Regions from separate parts of the Homo sapiens genome. Here region 2 is linked to region 1. The links are contacts of gene promoters, found by promoter capture Hi-C in blood cells and fetal thymus (Javierre and others, 2016). All regions are on one chromosome and are shown on one strand. Each heading gives the region's core, a stretch centred on a gene start or on the middle of the fragment in contact. The rest is flanking DNA. Distances are from core to core; before and after follow the strand shown. Region 1 holds the start of RNF7 (ring finger protein 7). Region 2 overlaps TFDP2 (transcription factor Dp-2).

Evidence for each region. The method cuts DNA at HindIII sites, captures the fragments that hold promoters and counts their contacts. A CHiCAGO score of 5 or more calls a contact.
Region 2: a contact is called between a fragment that was not itself captured here and the fragment with the promoter of RNF7 in region 1, in 1 of 17 cell types (M0 macrophages). The highest score is 5.4, in M0 macrophages.

The regions. Positions count from the first base shown.
Region 1 is chr3:141,733,601-141,739,855 of GRCh38, reverse strand. RNF7 (ring finger protein 7) reads right to left here and starts at 1,558. Exons shown (of 3, transcript NM_014245.5): 1 at 1,340-1,558. The coding sequence starts at 1,514. RefSeq lists enhancers at 407-1,085, 1,286-1,525, 1,086-1,765, 1,876-1,925, 1,966-2,015 and silencers at 1,086-1,265, 1,526-1,785. The HindIII fragment of the contact is 15,473 bases long and covers 1-6,255 here.
Region 2 is chr3:141,996,950-142,003,458 of GRCh38, reverse strand. The region is part of intron 4 of TFDP2 (transcription factor Dp-2); the gene reads left to right. Among named protein-coding and RNA genes, the nearest start is that of ATP1B3, 120 kb to the right of the region's middle. RefSeq lists a silencer at 2,493-2,686. The HindIII fragment of the contact is 5,648 bases long and covers 2,375-6,509 here.

The DNA of each region.
Region 1 (6,255 bases), core at 309-2,808:
GGGTCCTGCGATGTTGCCTAGGCTGGTCTCAAACTCCTGGGCTCAAGTGATCCATGTAAAATAAGTGGGTCATGTCTAATATCAAGGTCTTTCAAAAGAGAAAGATAAAAATATCTGAATCCAATTGTTGTAAATCCTCTTTGAAACAAGCCCTTAGGAATAAAAGACAAAAGAGCATAAACTGCGAAATCTCTTGATTCTGGTATGTTTACAGTCTCACCCCCCTTAAGGTGAGCAATTCTCTGTATGTTCTCCAATTCTCTCATTTTTCAAGACAAGTCACAGTTTTCAAACGATAGAAATGTCCGTTTTCTTTAACTACCCTCAATAAAGAATTCCACTGAAGAGGGTCTCATAGTAATTTTAAATGCCCTATCTGAAAATACAACTTGCATTTAAATAGCACCTGCTTTTCAAAGTGGTCTGAGTTCTTAGAACCATATAAAATATAACAAGATTAAGCTGTTCTGAAAAGTTTCACTTGGTCTAATATTTTAACTCAAAATATCACAGAAAGAAGACATATTTGTAAGAGGGTTCTCCACAAAGGCATGACTCAGAGCAGCACAGTATCTTCTCCAGGAAATGGCATCCAATATGGAGAGGGGGGTGTGATGGAGGTGAAGTTTTACGTTTCTGAAAAAAGGGCTTACAATTCTTCAGCTTCCATGAAACTTAGATATTCTTGAACCACACTGTTCCCTTCAAGCCACGCTAGTGCTATCTGACCCGTCTTAAATCAATCCAGATTTAAAAGCCATTCGAAGAGCGGCGGTAAGCTAATCCGGAAATGCAATGGCTATGAACACTTTCCTGCGTCCCTCGAGGAGAACTAAGGGTGTCGTTTTGTGGAAGATGACTCTGGAGCATCACTTTGGTGGTGACCAAGACTATTAAAGTTCACTGCTGAATCACGGCCTTTACCCTGACCACCTTGTGTTGAGCTTTTAGAGGTGGGGCTGGGGCTGGACACACAAACCGAAGTGTTTCCTGCTAGTTCCCAACAATCACCCGGTTTTACTTTCTTGGTCACACCCATCACTACCTGAAATTACCTTGTTTAACTCCGTTTATTGCCCGTCTCTCTCCCTAGAACACCAACCACCCGGCGCAGGGCGCCTGTTGCACAACCCCGCAGCCCCAGGCGGCGGCCGCAGCCCTCAGGAGCCGCAGCAGGAGCGTGGCTCCGCGTTCCTCCGGCGCCGGGGCAGGGCGACCTCCACCCACTCTCCCAGGCAGGGCACTTTCCGAGGCTTCTGACGGACGCCCGTCCCTTCCCAACCCCGAGGTCGGCTCCCGGAGGCCGCAGGGCGGCCCTGGACTCGCGTGCAGCGCTTACCCATCACCTGGACCCTGCAGATGGCGCACGTATCGCACTCCACGTCCCAGCTCCACATGGCCACCGCGTTCCACTTCTTGAGGGAGAACATCTTGTCGCCTCCCGACTTGGAGCCTGAGCTCCCGGAGTGAGAGGCCAGGGCGCAGGTTTCCTCTCCGTCTTCCACGTCGGCCATGGCGGCGCCGCGGAGCCGACGGCGGAGACGTTGGCTTGGGGAAGGCGGAAGGCTAGGGCGGCTCTGTGGAGCCGCCCGACGGGCCACAGCGCCGCCCGCAGGCCGCCAGCCACCGTGGTGCCTAGACCCCGGCTGCCCACGATTGGCTGGCGCGGCACAGTGACGTCACCTGACGCCAGCGCCAGGGGGGCGGGCAGGCCCCGCCCTCGCCGTCCTAGGCCAACTGAGAGGGCTCGGGCCCTTATGGGGCGACGCCGCTGAATCTGCCTGCTGCGCTGCGGGGTGTTACGTCTGAGCAGGCGCACAGATTGTGCAGGGATATGTGTCCTGCTTTACGGCTTCATTAAACCTACTGCTCTCAGAAATTATCTTGTTAATTTATTCGTTTGTCTCTTCCCTCCCAAATGTAAAACTCTATCAGAGCAGGAAACATGTTGCTATCACCACATTATCCTCCGTATCTGCAAAATGCCTGGCCACAGGAGGCACAATTATTTGTTGAGTGAATAAATGATCTTAAAGATCTAGAAATCTGGTTCAGTGATTCTCAAAACTTTTTGGTCCCAGGACTCCTTTTCACTTAAAAATTATTAGGACCTTAAAGAACTTTTATTTATGTAGGAAATGTGTAAATATATATATATATACACACACACATATTATGTATGAATATATATACACATATACAATGAATATATGTATATTCATATATACATACATTTCCTGTATATGTATACACACATATGTAGAGATTAATGTTTGCTTTTGAAGAAATTAAAACATTTTAAAATGTATTCATTAAAAATCACAGTAGTAACCTCATTACAGGTTATCATTAGAGGGATGACTTCACATACCATGTAGTTGCTAGAAACTCCGGTGTACACTCGTAGAATGAGAGTGAAAAGAGAGAAATAGCTCTAAATATTGTTAGGCAACTAGTTTGCCCTCTTTTGACCGCTAAAAGAGGTCGGGATCCCAGGAGTCCCGGTGTGTGGCGACACAACCCACACTTATTTTTCAGGCCCCGCTCCCTCAGCTGCACAGTCTCCATTCCTTCTGCTCAGTACATTTGAGCTAGTTTAACTTCCTCTTTTTATATGTAGGACTAATGAGGTCTGAAGAAGTGAAATGACAAAGATCACATCGTTATTATAGTAGTGCTTCTACGGCTAGCCCACCATCACATGTGTTTCCAAGAAAGCCGGTATCTCCATTGAAAAGAAAACAGAAGCACAGCCAGCCTAAGGAGATGCCTGACCCCACCATCACCTAGTGGTGGACAGCTACTCTGTCAAGTTTGGATTCTGAGCCTCTCCCCATCCCCTCATTTCCTGATACCTGGGCAAAAGCTAACCAGACTAATGGAGCCTGGCAGGGGAAACAAGAATGCATTAATATACAGAAACATAAATATGGACACAGGGTCACATTTGGTTAGATGCAAATGCGTATTTGTTGAGTGGTGTGTTAAGGGCTGTGAGGGTACAGGATGCAGTGAGGGAAAGCCTCATGAGAGAGGTAGAGGATGCAGTGAGGGAAAGCCTCATGAGAGAGTAGAGGATGCAGTGAGGGAAAGCCTCATGAGAGAGGTAGAGGATGCAGTGAGGGAAAGCCTCATGAGAGAGGTGAAGTTTGAACTGGGGGAACATGGGAGGTCTTCAGGGCCAGTGGAGAGAGCAAACCTCTCTGAGCTGTTGGCCAGAGCAGGGCACAATGGTGGCAGCAGACAGGAATTGGACCACACCTACTTTATAAGCCAGACACCCATTGGAGTGAGCACACAAAACATGTGTTCTCTTCTTACTGAACGACCACACATCTGCCTAGAGATGGCTGTAAATGCTAGGTATCTAACAAAGAAGGAAGGCTGGCACCAGAGGAGGATAAAACGCACCCAGTTGGTGAGAAGTTTGAAAGTCAAAAGGATGAAATGGTGAAAAGGAAAAGAATGGTTTCGCTGGAGGAATGGTATGTGCCCTTGCTGAGGCATGAAATCTGGAGAGAGGTGTCTGCTGCAATGAAATTTAAAATAGAAGCCAGGAGGGAGCATAGGGGCGGGAAGTGGGAAGGCAGGTGGAGGAGATGAGTACAGTTTTGACACACTGCATGTCAGGAGAACTTTTTCTCCTGACAAAAAGAACAGGAATGAGTGATGCGCCAGAGTTCAGTGCAACAAGCAAGCATGCATGGGGAGAAAGGAAAGCAGGAGTGAGGCAGAAAGTTCAGGCTGCAGCAGCTGTTCAGGCGTGGTGGGGCCAACGGGTCCCCTGTGATTACCTTCCTTTGGTTCACCTTCATGAGGGCTTGTCTGCCATCATGAGCACCCAAAGGGCAGGAACTATAGGTGGCCTTGAATGCAGCAAAACAAATATCTGTCCTTCTCATGGCCTGCTCAGTTCCCACTCCACCACTGTGCATTGTTCCTCTCACCAGTCCTTGGTGTGTGGTGACACAACCCACACTTATTTTTCAGGCCTGGCTTCCTCAGCTGCACAGTCTCCTTTCCTTCTGCTCAGTACATTGAAGACGTAGTTTCTTTCATTTTGAGGACTTCTCTTAAGCAAAATATTTGAGGACTAACTAATAAATATTTAGGAAAAACTTGTCTCAGTACAAGTGGACATTTTTGTTATTTCTTTGGTCCTCACTCCAACCATCATTTCCCCCTTCTATGCCATTCATCTTTAACAAAATAAGTTTTCCTGTTGCCAGGGAGGTAAAACTTTCACTCTACCCTCTTAGGTTCAGTATTCGGGGGATTGCAAATTAAACCAACAAAACACAGCTTAGCAGGAGAAAAGATAGATTTTTATTCACTGAAGCAGTCAGAGTTCACAGAAAATTATGACTCAAGGAGCAATTAGAATTTGGGGCTTATATACTGTCTAAATAAAGGAAAGGGAGAAGGAGAAAGGGCACTTCTGGGAAAAAACTTTCAGAAAAGATAAACAGGCCTTTGGGAGAATAGATGGGAGATATGATAGTTTTGTGACAAAGTCTATTAGGTGATTTATTATCCCAGTACCAACTTCCTGTTTCTAAAGATAGGGTCAATCTTCCCTGGTTTTGAAATTGCTGGGAAGGAATTTAAGACAGTTGAATTCTTTTGAGAGGCAAGTAAGTTCAGGGAAAAAATTAAAATAAAATAAAACAACTCTTCCTGCATCCACTGATTCTCAAATGCCTTTAGCTCAAAATAATCCTTATGCTATAGTGGCATATTCTGGACTTCTTTCCTGTACTAGGGAAAGAAATAAAAACAAAAACAAACCTGATGACATTTGCTTGTTGAGCTGGAGTAGTTTCCCCAAAAGGACCAATGTTTGGAACCATAATGACAAAGCAAGAAAATTGTTCCTAGAGGCTAGAGATCAAAGCTAGCCCGAAATGTATAAGCTGCCTCCTCCTGGGAATGTCCTTCTAAGCAAGTCTGCTCTCCATCACACTTGTCAGACAAGAGTTATGGCTCATCTTTTTTCTTGGAAATAATTGTGTTTATGTCCATAGGTCCCTGAGCATTTTCTGGTCTTCTTTGGTCACATGGAACCCTCCAGTTCATTTGCCTCTCTTGGTCTTAGGTGAAGGTGCTATGGCCGGAAATCATTAGTCCTGCCACCCCACTCCCCCAACACACACACACACACACACACACCCCATACTGAAAGCGTACATGTGACCAAGGCAATCAGCCTTTGTTGGAGAATTCCTTAAATCCTCCCAACATTATATTTCATTAATTGTAGACATCAATCATCAATTGTGTGACGTAAATCAATTTCGGATGTAAAAAAAGAAGTGATGTAGAATATTTCAGAATAGATGAAAAATGAAATAGAAAAACCCATGCCTAAATCTCATGATGCCTTCTTTAGAAACCTGGTGACTTTCCTGAGAAAGTAGAGTTTTGGGGATTGATTTTAATCCATTTGTCTAAAATTGCTCCACATTGAATCTTCTTGAGCTGCAGGTGCGGATGAGTATAGCACTGTGTGTATGCTTTTGTCTCTTTTTTGAAATTTGCTGAGTTTTTTCTATTAGATATTGGTGACATCGGCTTGAATGGCTCATTGTTGCTTCAAACTTGACAGGTGAAAGGGAGTTCATTTCCTTTCTTGCAAAATTTAGCTTTCTTTCAACAATTCCCTTTCTCTGCCTGAGATGTAATTCTCTCGTAGGTATAACTGTCCTGGTCTGAAACCACGGTCACTGTTGACTCTTTCCCTTCCTCGCCCTTCATACGTAATTATCTGTTCATTCTTTCTTTAGAAATTTCTAGAATCAACCAAACTTTCCATTTCCTATTGTGGAGCTTAACCTCATCACCCTGCTTCTGGATTACAGTGTATTGACTTCTTCCCTGCCTTTCCTCCCCAGTCTAACTGCCATTCAATCTAACATGCCTGGTTAATTTTCCTACCTCCTGACACTCTCCTGCTCAAAATGTTCCAAAGCTCCACATTATCATCAGAACAAAATCTAAATGTCCTGATTGTTCATTTAAGTCCCACCACAATATGGCCCCAACCTACCTGTCAAGGCCATCCCCGGCACCCCTCTGCAGGATCCTCGTGAGACTGGTCTGCACAGTCATCCAAGTGTACCATGGATGGTCTTTTCCTCACATGTTAACATCTCTGAAATTGGATAGAACTTCCCCTACCTTCTTCAGCTGGATTGCCCTCTGTGCTTAGAAAAAATGTACTCATCTTTCTGTTCTCACTGGCCACTCTTTGCCACC
Region 2 (6,509 bases), core at 3,949-6,448, 260 kb before region 1:
GGGATTAGTGACCTTATAAAAGAAGTTGAGGCTGGGTGTGGTGTCTCACGCCTGTAATCCCAGCACTTTGGGAGGCCATGGTGGGCGGGTCATGAGATCAAGAGACTGAGACCATCCTGGTCAACATGGTGAAACCCATCTCTACTAAAAATACAAAAATTGCCGGGTGTGGTGGCTCATGTCTGTAATCCCAGCACTTTGGGAGGCCAAGGTGGGTGGATCACGAGGTCAGGAGATCGAGACCATCCTGGCTAACACAGTGAAACCCCATGTCTACTAAAATACAAAAAATTAGCCAAGCATGGTGACACACATGTAGTCCCAGATACTCGGGAGGCTGAGGCAGGAGAATTGCTTGAACCCGGGAGGAAGAAGTTGTAGTGAGCAGAGATCGCGGCACTGTACTCCAGCCTGGGTGACAGAGCAAGACTCCATCTAAAAAAAAAAAAAAGTTGAAGGGAGCTCTTTGCCCCCTTCTGCCCCACTTCATGTAGTGAAGACACTACAAGAAGGTACCATCTATGAAGCAGAGAGTGAGCCTTCTGAATTTGCTGGTGTCTTGATCCTGGACTTCCCAGCCACCAGAACTATAAGAAATACATTTCTATCATTTATAAATTACCTATGCTAAGGTATTTTGTTATAGCAGACTAAGACAAAAATTAGTGCCAAGAACTGGGGTGTGGCCATAACAAACACCTAAAACTGTAGAAGTGGCTTTGGAACTGGATAATGGGCAGAGGCTGGAAGAGTTCAGAGGAACAGGCTGGAAAAAGCCTCTTGAGATGAATGGACCATTAAGGGTGATTCTGGTGAGGAATCAGAAAAGGAGAGCTATAGAGAAAGCCTCACTTTTCTTAGAGATTACCTCCGTGGTCATGAACAGAATGTTGGCACAAATATGGATGGTAAAGGCCATTATAATGAGGTATCAGATAGGAGTGAGGGACATGTTATTGGAAACTGGAGGAAAAGCCATCCTTGTTACAGAGTAGCAAAAGGCTGGGCCCAGTGGCTCATTCCTGTAATCCCAACATTTTGTGAGGCCAAGGCAGAAGGATTTCCTGAGCCCAGGAGTTCAAGACCAGCCTGAGCAACATAGTGAGACCTCATCTTTATCAAAAAAAAAAAAAAAAAAAAACACTAAAAATAAAAAATTAGCTAGGCCGGGTGCAGTGGCTTATACCTGTAATCCCAGCACTTTGGGAGGCCAAGGCTGGCAGATCACTTGAGGTCAGGAGTTCGAGAACAGCCTGGCCCACATGGTGAAACCCTGTCTCTACTAAAAATACAAAAATTAGCCGGACATGGTGGCGGGTGCCTGTAATCCCAGCTACTTGGGAGGCTGAGGCAGGAAGATCACTCGAATCTGGGAGGCTGAGGTTGCAGTGAGCAGAGATTGCACCACTGCACTCCAGCCTGGGCAACAGAGCGAGACTTTGTCTCAGACAAAAAAAAAAAAAAAAAACCAGGCATGGTGGCACCTAGCCACTCAGGAGACTAAGGAGAGAGGATCACTTGGGCCCAAGAGTCCAAGGCTGTAGTGACCCTGACAGAGTAAGACTCTATCTCAAAAAAATAAAAGAACTAAACAACAACCAAAAAAGTGGCAAGGGACTTCACTGAATTGTTTTCCTGTTTTAATGTTTTGTGGAAGGAGGAACTTAGGAGCCGTGAAATTGGATATTTGGTCAAAGAAATCTCTAAGCAAAGTGTTTAGGGATCAACATGGCTTCTCTTGGCTGTTTATAGTAAAATGTGAGAAGAGAGAAATGAATTAAAGATATAATTTATCATCAGAAGTGAAGATTTGGGAAATTCTCAGCTTGGCCATGTAAAGAATAAAAAAGCATGTTTTGGAGAGAACACCAAAAGAGTGGCCTAGTCACCTTTTGATAAGGAGATTAGCGTGCATGGGTGGAAGCTTGGTGTTGTTCATCAAAACAATGGAAGAATAAACCCATAGCATTTCAGTGATTACCGGTGCTGCTCCTCCCATCACAGGCCCAGAGTGCCAAGGCATGGGGGACAGAACTATCAAAAGAGGGGCTTCAGGCGCTAATGAAACCCTGGCAATCCCTTCCTGGCACTGTGTCAAGTCTGCTCCCCGAATTTTGGCACAGTGCTCCTTAGCCATTCCAGGTGTGGCTCCAGTAGGCCCAAGTATAGTGGCTGCTCCTCTAGAGGGCACAGGTGGTGAACCTTGGCAGTGTCTGAGTGATGCCATCTCCAGTGGGTGCAGAGTGTACAAGCTGCGGGGTATGATAACTTCCACCTAGATTTCAAAAGATGCCCTGGAGAGCCTTAGCAGATCCTGGCAGAGAATTGCTACAGAGGTGAGGCCACCATTGGGAACCCTCACCAGGGCAAAGCTTGGTGGAGCTGAGGTGCGCGGGGTTGCTCCCTGAGGCCCTAGTCTAGTAGAGCTTCCAGCATGCAACTCCAGCCTGGGAGAGCCACATGCAGAAGACTCAAACTCTAACCCAGGAGAACTGCAGCATGGGCTGCCCCCAATAAAGTCATGGGGGTGGGGGCCCCTGGTACCCTGGGGGCCCAACTCCTGCTCCAGTGTGTCCAGAAGGCAGGATATCAAGTCGAAGATTATTCTGAAGCCTTAAAAGTTAATGTTTGCCCTGTTGGGTTTTGTATTGGTTGGGACCTATTATCCCTTTCTTCTTTTCTATTTTCTCCCTTTTGGAATGGGAATGCATGTTCTGTGCCTGTCCCATCATTGCATTTTGGAAACAGGTTGGATTTCACAGACTCACAGCTGGAGGGGAATTTGCCTCAGGATGAATTGCACCTTTGAGTCTTACCCATATCTGATTTTGGGAAGGAGTTAAGACTTGTGAGACTATTGGAATGAAATGAATGTATTTTGCCTGTGAAATAGACATGAATTTTAGAGGGCCAGGAACTGGATGCTGTGGTTTGAATGGGTTCCTCCAAAAATTCATGTTGAAACCTAATCCCTACTGTGGTGGTATTAAGAGGCGGGGCCTTTTGGGAAGTGATGAAGTCATGAGGGCTTCACCCTTATGAGTGGAATTAGTGCCCTTATAAAAGAGGTTGAAGGGAGCACCCTGGACCCTTTCTGCTATTAGGATGCAACCAGAAGGCATCATCTTTGAAGCAGAGAATAAACCCTCACCAGGCACTGAATCTGCCGGCACTTTCATTTTGGACCTCTCAGCAACCTCCAGAACAGTGAGCAATAAATTTCTGTGGTTTGTAAATTACCCAGTTTTGTACTCCTTGCAGAAGACTTTAAAGAAAATTAATTAATTACCCAGTCTAAGGTGGTTTGTTATGGTAGCCTGAATGGACTAAGACACCCAGTTACAGCCATTTATCGCTTCTCCTCTAACTCCCTCATCCATGATTTTTAAAAAAGTTTTTGTTTAGTTAAAGAATTCTTGGATTAGGCTGGGCGTGGTGGCTCACGCCTGTAATCCCAGCACTTTGGGAGGCTCAGGCAGGCAGATCACGAGGTCAGGAGATCGAGACCATCCTGGCTAACAAGGTGAAACCCCGTCTCTACTAAAAGTACAAAAAATTAGCCGGGCGTGGTGGCAGGCGCCTGTAGTCCCAGCTACTCAGGAGGCTGAGGCAGGAGAATGGCATGAACCCGGGAGGCGGAGCTTGCAGTGAGCTGAGATCACGCCACTGCACTCCAGCCTAGGCAACAGAGCCAGACTCCGTCTCAAAAAAAAAAAAAAAAGGAATTCTTGCATTACAAACTCACCCATTTGCTTCTTAGCCTTCTTTTTGTGCTTGCCCTTTGAACTTTACATGTCTTTTGGAAGCCAAATCTTAATGGTAGATAGAAATTTCAAAAGGCCCCATGAAAAGTTTTGTGTGGTTATGGAAACTAGTTTAGCAGTACCTATTTTAGTTTGAGATACTTGCCCTTTTCTTACAGGCTGTCTTATGGTTATATGTTATAGATCTTAAGATTATTTATACAGTTGACCTTTGACCAATGCAAGGGATAAGGGCACAGCCCCTGTGCAGTCACAAATCCATGGGTAGCTTTTGACTCCCCCAAAATGTAACTATTAATACCTTATTATTGACTAGAAGCCTTACTATAACATAAATAATCAAATAACACATTTTATGTTATATTAATGTTATTTCATATGTTAATATGTATTGTATACTGTATTCTTACAATAAAGTAACCTAGGGAAAAATATTACAAAGAAAATCATTAGGAAAATACATTTATAATTCATTAAATGGAAGTGGATTATCATAAAAGTCTTCATCCTCGACGTCTTCACGTTGAGCAGGCTGCGGAGGAGAAAGAGGGAGGAGTTGGTCTGGCTGTCTCAAGGGTGGCAGAAGTGGAAGAAAATCCATGTATAAGTGGACCTGCCCAGTTCAAGCCCATGTTGTTCAAGGGTCAACTGTATAAGATAATCTAATGGCTGTCTTATTTTAGAAGAGTAAAAACTGCATGCTTCTTATAGTGAAAACCAAAATTCCATCAAATAGTGAAATCTCTTAATATACCACTTTATAATTTTGTAATTTTTTTTCCCTTTAGAATACATATGCTGTCTTGGCTTTTTTTAACTGTAGATGGCAGTAGCACATAAAATATGTTGATTGAGGGCAGGAAAATGTTCAGAGTAATGTTCAATTGCTATGTGATTTTCCCAGAGTAACTAATTCTATTGTCAGAGAAACCACATGATAACATTTAAGTTAAGGATGTCTGGATTTTTGGTAGGAGGACTCTGAAATTTAAAACTCCATTTTCCTTAGCATATCAAGTGAATATTAAAAGTATATTTTTACCTCCAACTTCAGTACTTCAAATTTTTTTTCTTTTTTGACAGAGTCTCGCTCTGTCACCTAGGCTGGAGAGTGTAGTGGCACGATCTCAGCTCACTGCAGCCTCCGCTTCCCAGGTTCAAGTGATTCTTCTGCCTCAGCCTCCTGAGTAGCTGGGATTACCGGCGTGCACCACAACACCCAGCTGATTTTTTTTGTATTTTTGGTAGATATGGGGTTTCACCATGTTGGCCAGGCTGGTCTCGAACTCCCTACCTCAAATGGGAGCCTACCTCACCTGCCTTAGGCTCCCAAAGTGCGGGGATTATAGGAGTGAGCCACTGTGCCTGGCCTGGGATTTCAAAATTAAGGTTCAGGGTTAGAAAGCATGACCGGCTCATCACCCTATAAACCAATTTTCTTATATTCTGTGGCTGTTCAAGTCTTACCGACTTTCCTTCTGTTTTATTTCTTACGTTTCACTCTCATTATCCTAGTTTAGGAACTTACTGTATCTCACATACTCTTAGGCCTTATCTTTCCTATTCAGGTGCGTCATCTCTCTAATTTGTTCATGTAGGAAATGTTTATTAAGGAATTGCTATGTACCAGGCCCTGTGCTAAGAGAAAGGAGCAGAGTGTTGCTAATCACTCTCCGATCAGCCGCAGCTAACAATCTGACAATGAGGGAGGGAAAAAAAGAAAATGTAAACTAGAATTCACTTTCAAAGTCATTTTCATAAAGATAGCCAGTTTTTCTCTATGTCCTCTTTCCCTTCCTTCTCTCTTTTTTTCCTTTCTTTCTCTTTTTTTTTTTTTTTTTTTTTGAGATGGAGTCTCACTCTGTCGCCCAGGCTGGAGTGCAGTGGCATGATCTCTGCTTACTGTAACCTCTGCCTCCTGGGTTCAAGTGATTGTCCTGCCTCAGCCTTCCAGGTAGCTGAGATTATAGGTGCCCACCCCCACGCCCAGCTAATTTTTGTATTTTTAGGAGAGTTAGGGTTTCACCATATTGGCCAGGCTGATCTTGAACTCCTGGCCTCAAATGATCCGCCTGCCTTTGCCTCTCAAAGTGCTAGGATTACAGGCATGAGCCACCATGCCCAGCTCCTTTTTTTTTTCTACAAAGTCCTGTAAATCAGCAAAACCAAGCATGTAGGCTGCTAATACCATATAGAAATACTGCAGTAGTAATACAATCTGTTTCAAGGGTAAATTGGAATGCTTAGAATAGCTTTGTAGACACTGCTGTTCAAGGAATAGGGTTGACCAGAGGCTAATCAAATAACTCACATTTTTCTTTATAAGTTGTCCATCCAAGGTCAGCATGATAGAGAATGTGATGTAGTGATTGGTGGAAACTATGCTGTATTTTTTTAGTGGATTTTATATAAACCTTTTAGCATATCAATAAATGAAGTTACTTTTTCCCCTATTATTTTAAAAATTGAGTATTTTATCCCAGTTAGTAAATATTTATTGTACCTTTCCTATGAGCATCCCCTACCACTGTGTTAAACCCTGCAAAGGACATAGTTTAGCAAGGTACTCGCCACCCCTAAAGATCCTGCACTGAAATGGGGGATGCACTGAAAGTGGGGATGTGGGACCAGATGTGTGGAGTGGGAAGTGCAAGCATACTTGGAATGCAAGGCAGAATTTGATGAGAGGTACAGACACATTGTCTGTTTTTATGTTTTCTCATGAGGCAAACTTCTGAGTGCCTT